5 separate regions of the Homo sapiens genome follow, and all the other regions are linked to region 1. Evidence: promoter capture Hi-C in 16 types of primary human blood cells and fetal thymus (Javierre and others, 2016). All regions are on one chromosome and are shown on one strand. Each heading gives the region's core, a stretch centred on a gene start or on the middle of the fragment in contact. The rest is flanking DNA. Distances are from core to core; before and after follow the strand shown.

What was found. Contacts are between HindIII fragments. The CHiCAGO score rates a contact against its expected background, and 5 or more counts as called.
Region 2: a fragment that was not itself captured here is called in contact with the fragment with the promoter of SIK1 in region 1 in 11 of 17 cell types (endothelial precursors, M0 macrophages, naive B cells and 8 more); the score reaches 18.4 in endothelial precursors.
Region 3: a contact is called between the fragment with the promoter of HSF2BP here and the fragment with the promoter of SIK1 in region 1, in 3 of 17 cell types (endothelial precursors, M0 macrophages and M1 macrophages). The highest score is 6.4, in endothelial precursors.
Region 4: a fragment that was not itself captured here is called in contact with the fragment with the promoter of SIK1 in region 1 in 8 of 17 cell types (endothelial precursors, naive B cells, M0 macrophages and 5 more); the score reaches 12.2 in endothelial precursors.
Region 5: a contact is called between a fragment that was not itself captured here and the fragment with the promoter of SIK1 in region 1, in 6 of 17 cell types (endothelial precursors, M0 macrophages, naive B cells and 3 more). The highest score is 6.7, in endothelial precursors.

What each region holds. Positions count from the first base shown.
Region 1 is chr21:43,425,881-43,429,569 of GRCh38, reverse strand. It overlaps SIK1 (salt inducible kinase 1), which reads left to right and starts at 2,439. Exons shown (of 14, transcript NM_173354.5): 1 at 2,439-2,560; 2 at 3,378-3,547. The coding sequence starts at 3,392. The HindIII fragment of the contact is 3,848 bases long and covers 282-3,689 here.
Region 2 is chr21:43,186,600-43,190,288 of GRCh38, reverse strand. No RefSeq gene overlaps it. Among named protein-coding and RNA genes, the nearest start is that of CRYAA, 19 kb to the right of the region's middle. The HindIII fragment of the contact is 931 bases long and covers 1,329-2,259 here.
Region 3 is chr21:43,657,882-43,661,570 of GRCh38, reverse strand. HSF2BP (heat shock transcription factor 2 binding protein) reads left to right here and starts at 2,083. Exons shown (of 9, transcript NM_007031.2): 1 at 2,083-2,185; 2 at 3,251-3,510. The coding sequence starts at 3,475. RRP1B (ribosomal RNA processing 1B) reads right to left here and starts at 2,011. Exons shown (of 16, transcript NM_015056.3): 1 at 1,777-2,011. The coding sequence starts at 1,906. RefSeq lists an enhancer at 1,019-1,068 and a silencer at 1,789-1,978. The HindIII fragment of the contact is 5,137 bases long and covers 1-3,689 here.
Region 4 is chr21:43,204,495-43,208,183 of GRCh38, reverse strand. No RefSeq gene overlaps it. Among named protein-coding and RNA genes, the nearest start is that of CRYAA, 37 kb to the right of the region's middle. The HindIII fragment of the contact is 2,709 bases long and covers 404-3,112 here.
Region 5 is chr21:43,270,531-43,274,219 of GRCh38, reverse strand. No RefSeq gene overlaps it. Among named protein-coding and RNA genes, the nearest start is that of LINC00322, 60 kb to the left of the region's middle. The HindIII fragment of the contact is 9,130 bases long and covers 1-3,689 here.

The DNA of each region.
Region 1 (3,689 bases), core at 1,190-3,689:
GCATTCCTTCCATTATGTTCAGTGAGGAGCTTCTCCAATCATTTGCTTGTACCATCCTTACACTCACACCATGTGTTTTATTTTTCCTCGTGTTAAAGGCACGGAAGACCAGAAAACAGAAAAGAAATCAAAGCTTCTGAGAGGAAATACAGCCTCGGGGGGTCAAGGACACAAACAACAACAAAAGACATTGGGTAACAGAGACCAGGTTGAAGCACAGACTTAGTTATGAGGGTGCCAGGGGTTCCCCCAGTGGGGAGACGGGACAGCCGTTCCAAGCTTGGCCTTTTCCTCTGTGCTTCCTGCCTTTCTCTGCAGAGCGAGCTCCTTGCCCACGGGCCCAGGGAAGGGAAAACAGGATGGCCATGGTTGGCACAGGGCTGTTCTGGGTTTTGGAAGCTCAGGGCTGGGTCAGGGTGAAAGGTCAAGTGCACCTGAGTTTGGGGACCTGTTCTGCGGAGGCAGTTTTGGCTGCAGTTTTTATTTGGTGCTGATGCAATGTTTCCAAACAGCCAGCCAGGTGTTTGCAAATACCTAAGACCTTTTGGAAGACTCTGGCTAGGGTGGGAGGGGTGGGGAAGCCTGCTTCCTGGATGCGGGGGGCAGTATTTCAAGTCACAGGCTGAGGGACTGAATGGTGAGTGTGATCAGGGGCCTGGTTTCTCCCCCACCCCGCCTTTTATCTTTGTTCTTTTTTGAGACAGGGCCTTGTTCTCTTGCTCAGGCTGGAGTGCAGTGGTGCAATGACAGCTCACTGCAGCCTCAACCTCCCAGGCTCACGCCATCCTCCCACCTCAGGCTCCCAAGTAGCCGGCCCCACAGGCGTGTGCCACCACACCTGGCTATTTTAAAAGTATTTTATAGAGGTGAGGTCTTGCTATGTTAACCAAGCCGGTCTCAAACTCCTGAGCTCAACTGATCCTCCTGCCTCAGCCTCCCAAAGCACTGGGATTACAGGCGGGAGACACGACGTCCAGCCTTGTTTTTGTTTAGTTCTCCTAGGAGCGGATTAACAGGGTGTTGGGACCTCCAAAAGGAAAAAAGGCAGTTGTACACTGTTCAGCTGAAAGGAACTAAAAATATTCCCCCGTATTCTTGGTATATAAACCTGGGACAAAGAAAAACACTCTGAACGATTAAGGAAAACTTTGGGACTCTTCATTTCCTTGAAAGCCTTTGAAAACCAACTGACTCCCAAACAACCCGTGTGTGTGTGTGTGTGTGTGTGTGTGTGTGTGTGTGTGTGGCGATTGGGAAATCTGTGGTCAGACCCTCGGGCGAATGAGGAGAAGCTCATCCTCGTTTCTCCGGGCCCTCCTCCCAGGCGTCCGTCCAGGCAGGAAAGCCTCCCGAGAAGGGTTCCAAGTTTTGTGCCAACTCCCCTGAATTCTCGTTCCCCCTTCTGTGAAGTAGTGTTATTTAACACAAGGAAAACTGACCCTAGGCTCGATCCAGAATCTAACTCCCAAATGGGTCCTCAGGCTTAAAAAATACCTTCGCCCACAGCCTCTGTCTCCCCTGAAGAAAACGTTTTCCGTTCGGATGAGGCATCGGCCACGGGCAAGCAAGTGGTCCCGCGCCCCCGTCCCCTACCCAGGCGGCCGGCCTGGCTCCGTCACCGCCCGCAGCGTCCGCCCGGGGCCCGCGCGGGAAGAGGGTCCCAGCCCCACATGCTGCGGGGGCAGCCCCGGGACGCGCAGACGCCAGCGCCGCTGAGGGCCGGGGCCGGGACCGGCCGCGCGGCGGGGGCTTCCAGAGCGGCCGGTCACGCTTCCTTAGGTTTCAAGTTTCTAACTTGCTGAACATTTCAGATTTTAACAGCAAAAGCGGCTGACGTCCCCGCGGGCAAGCGGCCTCTCGGGGTCTGCAGCGCCCCAGGGCATCCGCGCCGCCAGCCCCACGCGCGAGCCCGCGAGGCCCCCGGGCCCCCGCACGTCCCGAGGCTCTGAGTCTGGACGAACGCAGGCCGCGTGGAGGGGCCGGCGACCCCTGCCCGAGAGCCGTCCCCTCCTGGAGGGAGCGAGCACAAGGCGCCCGCGGGACCCGGCCCGAGTGCCCGAGCGTGGAGGGGCGGGCGCGCCCTCGGCGGTGGGGCCGCCCGCAGTGCCCCCAGCGCCCGGGAGGGGGCGCCCGGCGGAGCGCAGGCGGGCGGGCCTCGGGCGGCGGGCGCCCCTGACGTCACCGGCCCGCGGTCGCCAGGGCAACGGCCTCATCCCGCGCGCGTCAGAGCCGCCAGTCTCTTGGCAACCGCCCGATCTCCCGCTCTCCCTCCGCCCGGCGCTCGGCCGCGCGTCGCTCTGGCGTCAAAGCGACGTCAATGGGCGGCCCCCGCCCGGGCGGCGGGGGCGGGGCAGGGGGCGGGGACTACGGGGGGCGGGCCGGGGCGGGCCGGGGCGGGGCCGGGCGCCGCGTGCGGCGGAGCGCGGCGGCTCCGGGCTGACATGCGGCGCGGCCCCGGAGGCAGCAGCAGCGGCGGCGGCAGCCGGAGCAGTAGGCACCCGAGCAGCGCCAGCGGCCGAGCGGGCGGCTTCCTGGCCTGGGCGCTCCGGTGGCGGCGGAGGTGAGGCGGCGGCAGCGGCGGCAGCGGCGGCAGCGGCGGGCTCCGGGCGGGCGGAGGTGGCCGCCGTGGGGGCTCCGCGCGGGCGCCGGGCCGGGGCTCGGGGTTGCAGCCACCGCGCAGGGTCCCTGGCCTTGCGCGCGCGGGGTTCGCGGGCGGGGTTGGCGGCCTGGCCGCCCTCGGGCTCCCCTTTGTTGGGGGGCCGGGGTAGGAGTGAGTCCGCGGGGCTCAGGGGCTGGGGAGCCGGGGGTCAGGTTGGAGCCGACCGCGGGCGGAGATACCGGGTGTGGGGGGCGGGTCCGCGATCCCCGAGGTGCCTGGGATGTCGGGGGTGGGGACCGGACGGATCGCGGGCGGCGGGGGCAGGGTGTGGGAGCGGGGCAGGGGACGGTCCTGGGATCCGGATCGAGCCGACCTCGGGTGGCAGGGCCAGGTGTGGGAGCGGGTCCGCGCCCAGAGGTGCTAAAGGGGTCGAGGGTGGGGACGGAACCGACAGCGGGCGGCGGGAGGCGAGTGTGGAATCCCGGCTCAGGGGGTCCCGGGATCGGGACGGAACCGGACTCGGGCGGCAGGGGCCTCTATGAGAGCGGGTCCGTGCGCCCCGCGGGGCTCAAGAGGGTCGGGGGTCCGGGTGGAGCGGGCGGCGGGGGCGGGTCCACACCTCCCACGGGGCTGGAGGGGCCCGTGGATAGAGTGGGGGCGACAGGCGTGGGAGCAGGTCCCTGCGTCCCGTGGGGACTGGGGGCTCCGCGGGCACGGATGGAGCCGACCGCGGGCGGCGGGGGCGCTGGTGGGCTCTGAGCTCTGTGCGGCCCCGCAGGTGCGCGCGGAGCCATGGTTATCATGTCGGAGTTCAGCGCGGACCCCGCGGGCCAGGGTCAGGGCCAGCAGAAGCCCCTCCGGGTGGGTTTTTACGACATCGAGCGGACCCTGGGCAAAGGCAACTTCGCGGTGGTGAAGCTGGCGCGGCATCGAGTCACCAAAACGCAGGTGCGTGGGGGCGGTGGGACCCAGCCGGCGGGGCCTCCCCACTGGACCCGGGGCGACCCGACCTTTGGCGGGTGGACCCCATGCAGATTCACTGCTCCAGGCTTGATTGTCGTGGTGGGTAAATAGTAACCGTTTTTAGTTC
Region 2 (3,689 bases), core at 545-3,044, 240 kb after region 1:
CTTGTGTAATAACACTTGCAGCAGCATTTTCTGCAATAGCCAAAAATCAGAAGCAACCCTGATGTTCACCAGCAACAGAATGGATAAGTCGATAAACAGTGGAACACTATATAGACGCATGAAAACAAATGGCCCATGGCCACGCACAGCTGTGGGGTGAATCTCACATGCAAGACAAGACCAAGGGAGAGAAGCAATCCCATCCGGGTCCACGCAGTATCACCTTGTTTACCTCAAGTTCCAAAACCACAAAAGGAAGCATGATGTTGTTTAGGGATGCATTCCCACCCACATGGAAACCCTAAGACAAAGCAAAGGAATGAACATCACAAAAAGTCAAAATGTCTCTTACCTGCAGGGTAAGATGCAGAGCCACACAGCCAGGGGTTTTGATCTGTTTCGTCTGCGGCTATATCCCAAATGCTTAGCACAAAGCCTAGCACATAGCAGGGACTCAATAAAGACTTGCTGCATGCATGAACGAATGAATGAATGAACGAATGAGATGCGATCCCAAAGGGTGCACAGGCCACTTCTAAGGTTCTGGTTAAGGTTCTATTTCTTAATCTGGGAAGAAGTTCCCCTTTTTTTTTTTTTTGAGATAGATAGGGTCTCACTTTGTCGCCCAGGCTGGAGTACAGTGGGACGATCACAGCTCACAGCCTCTGCCTCCTGGGCTCAAGCAATCCTTCCACCTCAGCCTCCCAAATAGTTAGGACCACAGGCATGCACCACCATGCCTGGCTAATTTTTGTATTTTTTGTAGAGACGGGGTTTTGCCATGTTGCCCAGGCTGGTCTCGAACTCTTGAGTTCAAGTGATCCTCCTGCCTCAGCCTCCCAAAGTGCTGGGATTATGGGCGTGAGCCACTGCACTCAGCAGGCTAACCATTCTTTAAAATGTATATCTGTATTGTATGTACTCTACTGTATGTAGCATATATTTTACAATAAAAATAAAATTGTTTTAAATCACAAAAGCGTTTGAAAAAACAGTAGTCTGGGGACAACGTGTATTTATACACGAAAGACATCAAATAACGAAAGCCCTGTGATTTTAGAGCAAAAAATAGACAGACAGAAGAAAATAATGAGTACAGAAAGTTCAGGGAAAGGGTGTGGAGCCATTCTTTTTTCTTTCCTGTATCCCCGAAGAGCCCAGCAAACTGAGTTGGGTTTTGCTCCATTTCTTGGCAAATGCAGAGAAACACCACGAGCTTGCCAAGGGAGGTTGGCATGGGCACTCTGTAAAATGCAAGATCCTCCCAGACCCGGTGGGGGCCGGGAGGGAGCTCTGCCACGCCAAAGAGCTCCCGGCCGAGCCAAGCTTCCCACAGGGACGCAGAGGCAAGGCTGCCAACTGGTACAATTACCAAGGGGGCCGGGAGAGCATCAGCCTAATGTCTCTGCACACAGAAAAGAGAGAAGAGGAGTTAAGAAGGGTGGTGGGGGCGGGGGAAGAGGAAGAGGAAGAGAAGAGACGTTCTCAGCCCTCAAGTAGATGAATTAGAAAATCAAATCAAATAAAAAAGGAACCAGAAGAGACCACACCTCAAACATCAGGAAATGAAAGTAACGTTCCTCACACCTGTAATCCCAGCACTTTGGGAGGCTGAGGCGAGCAGATCACCTGAGGTCAGGAGTTCGAGACCAGCCTGACCAATATGGCGAAACCCCATCTCTATTAAAAATACAAAAAGTTAGCTGGGCATGGTGGCAGGCCCCTGTAGTCCCAGCTACTCGGGGGGCTGAGACAGGAGAATAGATTGAACCCGGGAGGTGGAGGTTGCAGTGAGCCGAAATCACGCCACTGCTCTCCAGCCTGGGTGACAGAGCAAGGCTCTGTCTCAAACAAAAAGAAAGTAACTTTCCTATGTGTTGGGTTTCCCACCTCAAGTTGTGGCGAGAGCCACCCCACAGGCCACTGCTTAGGTCTGAGGGTGGCGAGGAGTGAGGGTGCCCAGCCGGCCACCCCATCAGGGGATGTCCTGGCTCTGTGTTTTCAGACTCAATGACCAAGGGCCACAGTAGGAAATAAATTTTCCACCATGATCCAGTGTGTATCGCATGTGTGTGCCTGTGTGTGTAGCACTGAAGTAAAGGTTGTGAACCAATGTATACTTCCACTCTACTCTATTCTATTCCTTCTTTAAAGATGCTGGTGGAGACCCACTGAATTAATTTCATGAGCCACCCATGGGATGTGAGCACAGCTGGGAAAAGATCTCAAGGTTTTGATCCTGGGATCTATGCACAAGCTTGCCCCAGCCCACACACTCCCTGAGTGTATGTGAATGTGCCTGTGTGTACACATGTGTGTGTGCATTGCATGTGAGCACATGTATGCATGTATGTGCATTCATGTATGTATCTGTGTGTGCTCATGTGCATGCATGTGTGCACTGTGTGCATGTCTGTTGTGTGCATGTGTCTATTGCTCATGAATGTGTGCTCGTGTGTGCACTGTATGTACATGTGTGTATGTGTTCGTGTGTGTGCTCATGTGTGTGCACTGTGTGCGTGTGTTGTACATGTGCGTGTGTGTGTTCATGTATGTATGCCCATAGGCATGCATGTGTGCACTGTGTATGCATGCTTGTGTTGTATGTTCATGTGTGTGTGCCTAGAAATGAGTCCATGTCTTCTGATCATATTTTCAGAGGTGTCCTTGATCCTCCAAACCCACCCCAGTCCATTATGTCACAGAAGAAGAAACCGAGGTCCAGGGAGGCCTCAGTGAGTCAGGGGCTAAGCAGAGGCGGAAACCTCTTGACTCCTGCTCCGAGCCGAGCACATGAGCCTGTGACTCAGGGCCCAGTCCCTGCTGAGGAGCCTCCAGCTGCCGCCTCAGGCCTGTCTGGACTCCCTAGGAGACCTGCACTGTATCTGCACACTGTCTTGCAGTAAAGGTTCCCAGGCACTGACCGCATCGGCACTGCCAGGAATCCTGGGCAGCAGCCCCAGCAGACCCCAGGGCTGGCCTGAGTGTCCTGTGGAGCCAAGCCCTGGGCCCAACACCATCCATGGGGCTTCAACTGCTCAGCTAGCTATGGTGCACGTGGCACAAGACCCATAACAGCAGGACCCACGGCAGCCCTCAGAGCGGTGGCCAGGGGATGGGCGGGCAGGAAAATGGAGCCACGGAAGGATGAGGCCAAGGACCAACCCAGTCAATAAAACCAGAGACCTGCACAGAGCCAGCACCAGCTGCACCCGAGGCCACAAGAAAAGAGCCCCCAGCACGGGGAGAATTCATGGAGCTCATGAATATTTTAATAGGGCTTTACAGAAAACAGTCCTGGGTACCTGATTCCCAGGTGTCTAATTGCTAGAGTGGCTGCGTAATGACCAGCAGGGTATGGAGGCCTGGGGCAGACCCAGTCTTGAAAGAACGGTTGGCTCCTGCTTTGGAAACAGAAGCCTCTGCTGAATTCCACCCTGCCACTGGCCCAGGGGCCTCAGCCTCTGGAGTCCATCTGCTGAGTGTGGAAGGGTGACAATGACACCTGCCTCCTGCTCCTCCACACCTGGCCCATGGGCCGCATTCAAGATCAGTGAGTGTCGGGCCCAGTCCCCTCTCCTCTCGCTCCACCTCCTCCTCACAGGGCACCTGTGAGTGGGGCCGCAGGACCCTGCGGGGGTAGCAGAGGGTTCGGATGCTGAGCAGGGAATCACCTGCCGCCACGTGGC
Region 3 (3,689 bases), core at 834-3,333, 230 kb before region 1:
AAAGAGCCCACGGTCAAGAATTTATGTCATCAGGAGGTGAACGAGGGAGGACGGGGGTCCTCCCACTGGATGTGGGCCAGGGGAAGAGGATGAGGAATTCAGAGGAGTCCAGGACAATCCCGTGTGTCCGGCTGGAATCTGAATGGCTGGTGGGAACCAGCAACCAAAAGAAAAGAAAACAGGTGGCAGTGGAGCAGCAGCAGAGAACAGGATTTCGGGGAAAGAAAACAGAACTTTTTTTGGCATCCTGAGTGTGAGGTGCCAGGTAGAGAAGCCAGGCTAGCAAGGCACATCCGAGCTGCAAGTAGGAATGGGCTGGGACAACAATTTAGGTTTAGAAACCACCAGCATATATGGGGTACCTGGAACTGTGAGACTAAACAAAATCTCTTGGGGAGATTCTTAACAGAATCAAAGTCAGGAATTTTGGTCTTTATTCCTTTTTCTATCAGACTTCCCAGGAAAGTGTATTTTCTTTTTTTGGGTAGTCTGGTGATTTCTCTTAAAAATAAAACAAACTGAGAATGTCAGTGATGGGGGAGATAATATCTGTTCTTTTAAGCAGATTCTAAATGTATTAGTACCATCAGTAACTAAATAAAACTTTATCTTAAAACCTCTATTACACATTGTAGTTCATATTGTATGGGCTCACTCAAGAGTTTATAGAAAGTATTTTTGGATCAGGTAAATGAAATCATCCAACAGCAGTGCCGTTAAAATCTAAACTACAAAGCCCTGTGTGATCTGGCCACTGCCTACATCTCCAACTTCATCTCATAACACTCGCCCCCCCAACCCCAACTTATTGGTCTTTCAAACCACTCCTAGGGCACGTGAAGCTCTTTCCTGCCTCTGCATAGGCGGTTTCCGCTCATTTCTCTTCAGATCTGAGCTGATTATCAGCCCAGAGAGGCCTTCCCAGAACAGCCTATCAAGAAGAGCAACCTCCTTCCCTTTTTGCTATTATCTGGTTTTCTTTTTCCTTTTTTCTTTTCTTTTCTTTTTGAGACGGAGTTTCGCTCTTGTTGCCCAGGCCGGAGTGCAATGCTGCGATCTCGGCTCACCGCAACCTCCGCCTCCCAGGTTCAAGCGATTCTCCTGCCTCAGCCTCCCGAGTACTGAGATTACAGGCATGCGCCACCATGCCCGGCTAATTCTGTATTTTTAGTAGAGCCGGGGTTTCACCATGTTGGTCCGGCTGGTCTCGAACTCCCGACCTCAGGTGATCCGCCCGCCTCGGCTTCCCAGAGTGCTGGGATTACATGCGTGAGACACCGCGCCCGGCCTGCTACCTGGTTTTCATTTCCTTTACTACACTTACACAAGGTCTACTTTATTTGCCTGTTTGCCTCCTTGCTTTATTACTAATAGATCCTCGAGGGTAGTGATTTTGTCTGTCTTCTCTCCTGCAGCCCCGTCACGTAAAGGTGCTGGTCAAAGGAAGGCGGCAATCACCGACCGGACACCAGGGCAAATCAGGGCAGCCCAGTGATTCGAGATGCCGGCTGGGGAATCGGACCCATGTGGGTCTTTTCTCAGCTTCCCCGCTTACTGTGACTTTCATAAGTAACGGAACCCCCTCAACCCGTTTCCTTAAGTGTAAAAAGGCACTAGACACAGCAAGAAGCGGTTCCGGCAGCGCGGAAACCGAAGCACACGCTGGGTGTCACGACAACACGTGGAAGCCGCATTCCGTGCCGGGGCCCTGGCCCTAGCCCCAGCCCCGGCCCCCGGCCCGCCATGTGGCGCGGCTGACCGCGGCCGTGCGCCCACCTGTCTCCCTCTGCGTCTTCACGCTGATGTACTGGCGCAGCTTCTTCACCGCTCGGTCCCGGATGCCCTTCTCGCTGGACGCCAGCCGCTGGGCAAATTGGATCTCGGCCGGCTGCATGGCGGGGGCCATCGCGCCCGCTGGAGCATCCCCGGCCGCGCAACCCGCGGTGCCGCTGCAGCCAGCCGAGCGCTGCGGAGCAGCCAGCCACCGTCCGCCCGGGCCGCGACTGCACAGAAGGCGGCGGCGGCGGCGCGCGGGCTGATGGCGTCACAAAGGCGCCGCGGCTCGCAGCGCGCTCTGGGAGTGAGCGCGGCAGTGGCCCTGGCAGCTGGCGGAGCGGCCCAGCCCGTGTGCACGTGGCGCCGGCGCTGCCTTTCGGTTGCCAAAATTCAGGCTGTAGACGGCGAGGTTAGCCAGGGTTAGGACTTGACCAGGAAGAGACGGAAGGCTGTTTGTAAACGGTCTAGGATTTTTTGTTTGTTTTTGAGACAGGGTCTCCCTCTGTCGCCCAGGCTGGAATGCAGTGGCGCGATCTTGGCGGTGATCCTGGCTCACTGCAGCCTCGACCTCCCAGACTCGATCGATCCTCCCATCTCGACCGCCCAAGTAGCTGAGACTACAGGCGCGCGCCATCACGCCCCACTATTTGTTATTTTTTTGTAGAGACGGTGTCTCGCTATGTTGCCCAAGCTGGTCTCAAACTCCTGGGCTCAAGCAATCCTCCCGCGGCGGCCTCCCTGATCGCTGGGATTACAGGCTTGAGCCGCCGCGCCTGGCCACGGTCCAGGATCTTTAATCCCATTTAGCACACCTCGTTGAGCCAGCAGCTTACCTGCGATCTCCGTGGCGTGGAGTTTTTAACTGTGGAGCCCCCGGGCCCCCGGGTGGAGTTGAGACTGGAAGGAAAGGCCGGCACTGGGGCCTGTTGAGCGGGTGGAGGGCTCGCCTTCCTCCAGTGCCTGCAGAGGCTTGGGCAGATCGGTGCGCCCCTACCCCGGAGCCCTGGTGCCAGTGCAAGGGCGCCCGCGCAGGCGTCCCGAGGCCTGGCGAGCACGCGCGCTTCCAGGGGAGTTGGGCAGGGCGGGCTGCTTGCTAATTCCAGAGAGGGAAGAAATCTTAGCTTTGGGTTCATCTAAAACCCGAGGCCATCCTATATTTTGCGGACTCAGCGGGCGTGCTGGGGCAAGTTAATGGACTAGGTCACTCCACACGTAGCGGGGGTTATCTCAGTTGCTCCGCTCAGTTGTCTAGGCGACCTCCCGAGGTGCCTGTTGACACAAAAATTCAACCCTTAACGTAAAAGCGCCTGAATCCGAGCGAGGGAAGGCGCGCGGAGGCGAGGTTTCCAGCAAAGACTGCCCATTTGAACGCAGTCCCCCTTAGTGTAGCATTCCTCGCCAAACAGGAAAGGACCCATCCGATTTATTTTACTTGACACTTACATCAGGGGCTGACTTTCCTTCTGCTTTGCAGATAACAAGTTTAAAACCCCGGCTAAGCCAGAAGAGCCAAAGAGGGACCTCGCCAAGGCCACTCCTCGCTCTCTAGGCCGAGAATACTGCGCAAATTCTGGGAGGTTTGGGCCTGGCGGCTCTCCGTTCCCGACCCCCGGCGTGGATTCGTTCCCGCGCTTTCTGGCGTGAGGGGTCAGAGGGCGCGCCGACGCTCAGGCGAACGGAGCGGAGGCGGCAGCGGCCATGGGCGAAGCGGGCGCCGCTGAGGAGGCCTGCCGGGTTAGTGAGGAAGCCCTGGCCGACGCCAGCGTGTTTGAACCGTCGCCATTCGCTCCCCTCAGGGCCTCGCCCCGTGCGCTCGGAGACGGCTCGCTGTCGCGTGCTTGGGGGAAGCCTGGAGACTTCCTCCCCTAACGGCGTGGGCTGGGCCGGAGCGGGGTGGAGACCTGGGGCGGGAG
Region 4 (3,689 bases), core at 509-3,008, 220 kb after region 1:
CAGTTTTCCTTTCCACAGCTGAACTGGGACCCCCTGGTCCTCCCAGGCTTAGGGAACCCTGAGCTTCTTTCCACCGCTGAGCTGGGACCCCCTGGTCCTCCCAGGCAGAGGGAACCCCGAGCTTCTTTCCACTGCTGAGCTGGGACCCCCTGTTCCTCCCAGGCAGGGGGAACCCCGAGCTTCGAGCTGGGTGCACTCAGCAACAGGAGTCCTCCTGCTTTTCCCTGGACAGACACCATCAGGACAGTCTCACCAGCATCCACTCCCACTGCCCTCAAGCCACATGGACTTGTCTCATCTGAACAGATTTGCTGGTCATGTCTCCGGGAAATGAATGATGCCCAGAACAGGGCCAGTGTTTCCAGGATCTTCCAACGTCAGCCTTGAAAATAGCTTTGAAGCTTCAATCCTAGGCTCCAGAGAGGTGTCTCCCTCATCTAATTAGACCATAAAATCAGTTTTGGCAACAGGGGAAGGGGAACATTTGGCCAAAAGAGTGGAAAAGCAGCTTCTGGAAGGACCCCAAATCCCAGCCACAGACCCAGCCCTTCTTGTTCATGGATCCGCGTGGGAGCATGGGTCAGAGAGGAACCGTTTAAGAGAAGGGGGTGGCTGGGAGCAGTGGCTCACGCCTGTAATCCCAGCACTTTGGGAGGCTGAGGCAGGCGGATCACGAGGTCAGGAGATCAAGACCATCCTGGCCATCATGGTGAAACTCTGTCTCTACTAAAAATACAAAAAATTAGCTGAGTGTGGTGGTGCACACCTGTAGTCCCAGCTACTCAGGAGGCTGAGGCAGGAGAATTGCTCAAACCTGGGAGGTGGAGGTTTCAGTGAGCCGAGATTGCGCCACTGCACTCCAGCCTGGCAACAGAGCGAGACTCTGTCCCCCAGAAAAAAAAAGAGAGAGAGAGAGAGAGAGAAGGGGGTGACTGCTACTGCAGAAAAGAACAATAAACATATGATTACCAGTGCTGCCTGGGCACCTGCTTGGCCAGAGGCTGCAGTGCCTGCCCTGGGTCATCCCGACGGCTCACTGGGCAGGTGGCACCTTCCCGCTGAAAGGTGAGGGAAGAAGGGACTGGCCGTGTCCCACTAACTGGCCTAAGAGGCAGAAAAGAGAAACACAACACGCCTTTGGAACTGCTCAGCTGCTTCGCTCCCCTCTCTTCACCTCCATCAATGCTCCCAGTGGCTGCGCCCACTCGTCCCCCCATCCCCATTTCACACCACGGGGGTCTGAGTGCCGATTCAGCTGCAGACCCTCCAAAGGCTTGATTGGCTTCTCCCCCACCTACCCCCTCCCTTGGCTAATAATAAAGACTGTCCTGTGATGCAACGGGGACGAAAGACACTTGACCTCCCCCAGCGAGCTCCACTAGGTCAGCTTGTAGGAGAGGAAAAGAAAACACCTGCACCGTGACAAACCTGTTGGCGAGAGTGACGGAGGCGCTGGAGAGCTGCGCCAGTAGGACAAAGAGCTCCAGCACCTGCAAGAGCAGCCACCAGTCCAAAATGGATGTGCCATTTACTCTGGCTTCCAGGCAGGGCTCCGGTCCCAGCAGGGCACCACCCTTTGTCTGCCCCATGGAAGGTGGGCACCAAAGTCCAAGGCTCAAGAAGGAGGAGGTGTAAAGGCCCTTAGCTCGGTCGCCTAAACTGGTCACCTGAGTGTCCACCCACAATCCACTTGAGCTGACCCAGTCTGCCTTGGGGGAGTCCCCTCAAACACCACAGAGGGGCACGTGTGGTCATTGCCTCTGTTGTCCACCCAGTGGCCCTTCCTGCAGCCTGGATGATATGGTTTGGCTTTGTGTCCCCACCCAAATCTGATCTCAAGCTGTAATCCCTGTGTATCGGAGGAGGGACCTGGTGGAAGGGGATTGGATCATGGGAATGGTTTCCCCATGCTGTTCTCAGGACAGTGAGGGAGTTCTCACAAGATCTGATGGTTTAAAAGTGATTGGCAGTTCCCCCCTCGCTCTCTCTCTCTTCTGCTGCCATGTAAGACGGTACTTGCTCCCGCTTTGCCTTCCGCCATGATTGAAAGTTTCCTGAGGCCTCCCCAGCCATGTGGAACTGGGAGTCAATTAAACCTCTTCTCTTTTTACATTACCCAGCCTCGGGCAGTTCTGTTTGTTTGTTTGCTTCTTTGTTTGTTTGAGACAGAGTCTCGCTCTGTCGCCCAGGCTGGAGTGCAGTGCCAGGATCTTGGCTCACTGCAACCTCTGCCTCCCAGGTTCACGCCATTCTCCTGCCTCAGCCTCTTGAGTAGCTGGGATTACAGGCACCCGCCACCACGCCCAGCTAATGTTTATATTTTCAGTAGAGATGGGGTTTCACCATGTTGGCCAGGATGGTCTCGATCTCTTGACCTCGTGATCCGCCCTCCTTGGCCTCCCAAAGTGCTGGGATTACAGGTGTGAGCCACTGCGCCTGGCCTCAGGCAGTTCTTTATAGCAGTGTGAAAACAAGCTAACACACGGGGAGCCCACCTGGATCACGCACATGTGAAATTTACATTGCCCAGAACCGGATGGTGGATGCAGAAGCCTATGCACGGCTAGATTCCGGGGGTAGCCCAGGAGGGCACGAATGGGTTCTGTCCCCAACAACAGGGTTCCTCCCCACCAGCAGCCCAGCTGGAGCCTGGAACTCCAGCATTAGAACTTTGATTTCTTTTGACTAAGATCTGGAAAGTTCTCATAGATAGCATGTTGATGTGGCCTCTGGCATTGACCACTCAGTGGGAACAATTCTACCTGCTGTTTTCCAGAGAGTTGGTGTGTAGGGGGCAGGGGAGGGAGGTGATGGCTGTGGGTCCCTGAAGTCCTGGCCTCCTCCACCATCCCCTTCAGCCACTTCCTTTGGAGGTCAGATCAGAGGCCGACAGAAAAGTCTGCAAGTTCCAGTATAAGGGAGGCCGTCTGAGAAAAGCAAAGCAAATTTAACTAAAATTAGGGGCCACCGCCCCACACACAGAACTTGCAGGAAAATTTAGAAAACCCAAAGACAATTGGCTTTTTTTTATTTTTTACATTTTGTAAGATTGGGTTTTTATACGTGTTTTAGACAACTGGCTATTTATATATATGAACCCAAGAGAAAAGCTTTCTCTTTATCGAGACAGAAAATTCAACTCACCTCTCAAAGCCTGGGAAGGCCACTGTCATCTCCCTCTCTAAATAGAGATTCTTCTACCAAAATACATAGGTAAATTTTAAAATTGCTCTTCAATCGAATCACTCATTTATAAAAGCCACTTCAGACTCTTATAGTGCCCCCAGCCCTGGGCAGCCCTGCACTTGCTCTGTGGGGGGAGACACTGAGAAGGGGTGGGTGAGGGGGTGCCCACCACAGTCCTCCTTATGCCGCCCTCGTCACCCACTGGCAGGTCCTGATCAAACGTCTTCCACACATCACCGCTGATTCGATTTCATATAAGCAAGGAAAGATTTTCCCCACTGTAAGGTGTCTTGAGTACAACCGACATTACCCTGTAGTGTCATATAGCTATTTTGTAGTGATAATTGTTTTTCTTATGATTCAGGGATACCAGGACCATGCTGAATGAATAATGAATTTTCTTCCTTCTAATTGCACATGGATCTTATGAACAAAGGGGCAGGCACTGTGCCCAAATAGATCCATGAATCAGGGTCCCAAGAAGTGAGTGCCCTTTACTGAAA
Region 5 (3,689 bases), core at 728-3,227, 150 kb after region 1:
TTGACCTGGCTTTCCAGTATCTACCACAAAACACCGTGCACAGAGCAAAGTCCGATTCCCTTCCACCTGGCTTTCCAGCATCTACCACAAAACGCCGCATGCAGGGCAGGTCAGCAGGTCCCATCCCCTTCCACCCGGCTTTCCAGTATCTGCCACAAAACACCACATGCAGGGCAGGTGAGCAGGTCCCATTCCCTTCCACCCGGCTTTCCAGCATCTACCGCAAAACGCCGCATGCAGGGCAGGTCAGCAGGTCCCATTCCACCAGGGCTTTCTTCTCATCTAAGGAGAGAGGAGGCGTCTGCTGGCGTTGGGTTTTCCCCTGGGCAAAAGACAGCTGTAAACAAAACAGCGCTAGGCAAGCATGCCGAGGTGAGAGGGGCCAGAAACCAGGGAGGAAGCTCTCCAGATAACAGAGCTGAGCCTGACTGTGGCATCTCCAGGGTCTGTTCCTGCCACACAGGCACTCCAGGCCCACATGGGAGAATGACAGCTCCTCCAGAGCCGGCCCTCAGGAAGTTCTCCAATACCCTGAGCTACTGTGAACCCTCGGAGCACCGTTGGTGAAGGGTGCTTTTCGAGGCTGTCAGGGTGAGCGTGAGCCCCCAGGCCCTGGTGGCATTTGTCATGGGTGGCATTGGTCTCTGTCCCTACAGCCTGCCTCCTGGGGCCACCACCACCTTCCTGGCTGCCCCCTCCAGCCTGGCTACTTAGGGGCTACTGGTACCCAGGAGATCAGGGAAGCCTGGGTTGCCAGCGGCCGGGGTGGGGGCTGTGGCACCTGCCGGCCGCTATGATCTGAATGTTGGTGCCCCCAGAAACTCATCTGTTGAAATCCTCACCGCATCATGATGGCATTGGGAGGCCATGGGGCCTTGAGGAGGTGGGGAGATCCTCAGGGTGGAGCCGTGTTCGTGGGATTCACGCCCTGATAAAGGCCACACAGAGCTCCCTCAGTCCTTCCACACGCAGGGACACAGACGAAGGATGTTGTCTGTAACCCAGCCGCAGGCGCTCACGGGAATCCGACCCTGCTGGTGCCCTGAGCTCAGCCTTGCAGCCTGCAAGGCTGTGAAAAATAAATGTCCATGCTTAGAAGCCACCAGTCTATGGTACATCATTACAGCAGCGGGAACGGACTGAGACATGCGGTGATCTCGCTTCTGGGGACAGGGGTTTCTGTCCCCAGCTCTCAGCTCCATCATCGACCCTGACAGAGTCCACAGTGAACATCCAGGGAGCAGGGCCAGCTCCCGGGCCCCTGTTCCTGGGGTATGGCTGCTTGTGTCTCACAGCAACGTCCCCCACACCCTGCACCTTATAGAAAAGGGGGCGGGACTCATGAAGACTCCTGGGTCTTGGCTCCTGGCCTCACCTGCTCAGAACCCAGCTCAGTTCCCCCATGGCCTCCATCCCTACCCAGTCCCGAGTCATCATTGCCCACTTGGCACCCCCCAGCCCTCCCTGGCTCCCCGCAGGGTCCATCCCTTCCTGCCAGGTCCTTGCTGGGATTCTCTGTGCACGTGGGACTCCCCCATTTCCGGGGGGATCAACCCCAGTGCTGATGAAGGCAAACTCAACAGCAGTCACACCTGGGAGTCCCACTGTCGGGGTCTGGGACCAAGAGGGAGCAGCAGGGCCAGGAGGCTTGCTGGGACCTCTGGGATAATATGACAGATCACGCCCACACACGAGGATGGCCAGTGGGGACGTTTGAGGTTCTCCCAGGCTTGATCACTCCCAGGCCAGGGCAAACCCCACACCCCACCTTCCACCCTGGGAGAAGTGGTGTCCCTGGCTACAGCCTCAGTGAGCACCCCCTGGTCTCTCTCCTGGCCCTGCCTCCCTCCAGGCTCACTGCAACCTCCACCTCCCAGGTTCAAGTGATTCTCCTGCCTCAGGCTCCTGAGTAGCTGGGACTACAGGTGTGCATCACCACGCCCAGCTACTTTTTGTATTTTTAATAAAGACAGGGTTTCATCATGTTGGCCAGGCTGGTCTCGAACTCCTAACCTCAGGTGACCTGCCCGTGTTGGCCTCCCTAAGTGCTGGGATTCCAGGCATGAACCACGGCACCCGGCCAAGAATTTGTTTCTTTATAAAAAATCATGGCTAGAAGGTTTGGCTTTTTTTCTTACTGTAAAAGCAATGAATGTTCATATAATATTGGACTTGTAATAAAATGTATCCCAAGTCTGCAGGGAATCCCCATGTGGGTGTCAATGGGCACCTCGACTTAGTGGCCGGCTCTTAATTCATGGGTCCACCCCCTGCACCTCTTCCCCCTTGGTTGGCTCAACTTCAGTCAGGAGGACTGGAGCCCACCCGGCCACTCAGGCCACAAGCCCGGGATCTCCACGGAGTTGGGGGTCCCCTCCCACCCGCATCCAACCCATCAGCTAGCTCTGTTGACTGTGCCTTCAAAACACATCCCACATTGGGCCTTTCCTCACCACTCGAGGCGTGTCCCTGTGCAAGGCCCTCGATTTCTCCATCAGCATTTGCAGCCAGCTGGGGGCCCGACCTGGGCAGATCCAGCCAGAAACTGGGAAGTGGCCACAATGGCGGCGGCCACCTTGGTGGACGTGGGGAGAATTGGAATGGCAGGAGATGAGTGAGATGCGGAGACAGATGTGTCTCTGCGCTTGTGCCAGGCTCCAAATTTGGAAGCATCGCTGATGGCCAAATTCCAACGAACCTGGAGTCCTGCTGTTGACTTTCTGATCCAACCGGTGAGTGCAGGGTGGCCCGGCCCTCCCTGTGAAACCAGACTTGTCTGGGGTGGTGTCTGACTTTTCTCAGTGAGCTCCGAGGCCCACCATTCTCATATCATCTGGAGGGTTTGTCAAAATGCAGATTCGTGGCTCCACTTCTGACCTATAGATCAAAGCTGTGGGGATGGGGCCCGGGAGCCTGTATTTCAAACAGCTCCTAGGTGGTCCTGGTGGAGGTTAAGAACTTCTGGCCTGGGGATTGGGAGTGTGGACTCTGCAGCGGCTCATCTCAGGCTGGAGTCCCGGCTGGAGTTTGTAAGCTACACAACTGGCCGCCCTCCACATCCTCCTCCGCAGGACAGGCTCCTGCCGTGAGTGAGACGATGTCCAGCTCAGCTCGGCGCCTGGCACACTGGGGACTGCCCTCAGCTCTGCCACTCTTGTTATTGTGGTTATTGCTGTGGCCATTGTGACGCTCTGCCTTCCTTGTTGTTGAGCCTGCTGCTGGTTGCACGTGACTTTGGACACCTATTTCCAGATGCCCGGCCCTGCACGCATTCATGGGGTTGCCGTGGAAACTGTGCTGTGAGGATGGCAGAAGCCGCAGGGTGAACAGAGTCTGAGTTTCCCAGGCACCGCGGCGGGCGTCAGCTGATTATCTGCAGTGGGCATCTCTGTTACTCTGCGATGGTCTCGGGTCTCTGTTAAGCATATTCACTGACACGGCACCACTACTCCCCCTTGTCCAAGGCCATCCCCAATGCCACCCTAAGGCAGCTTTTACTTTGGAAATCTTTATTATGACTTTATTTCCTATTTAATTTATTAGACTCCTTTGATGAGAAATAACACCTAAGTTTCCCCTACTCTCCTTTAAAACAAATTCCCCTCCATGGTTTCTGTGTCTCCTCCTCCTTCGCTGTCTGAGTTTCTTGGCTTCTCTGTTTGAATCAGTGCCCAGCTCTGTGGAGGGTC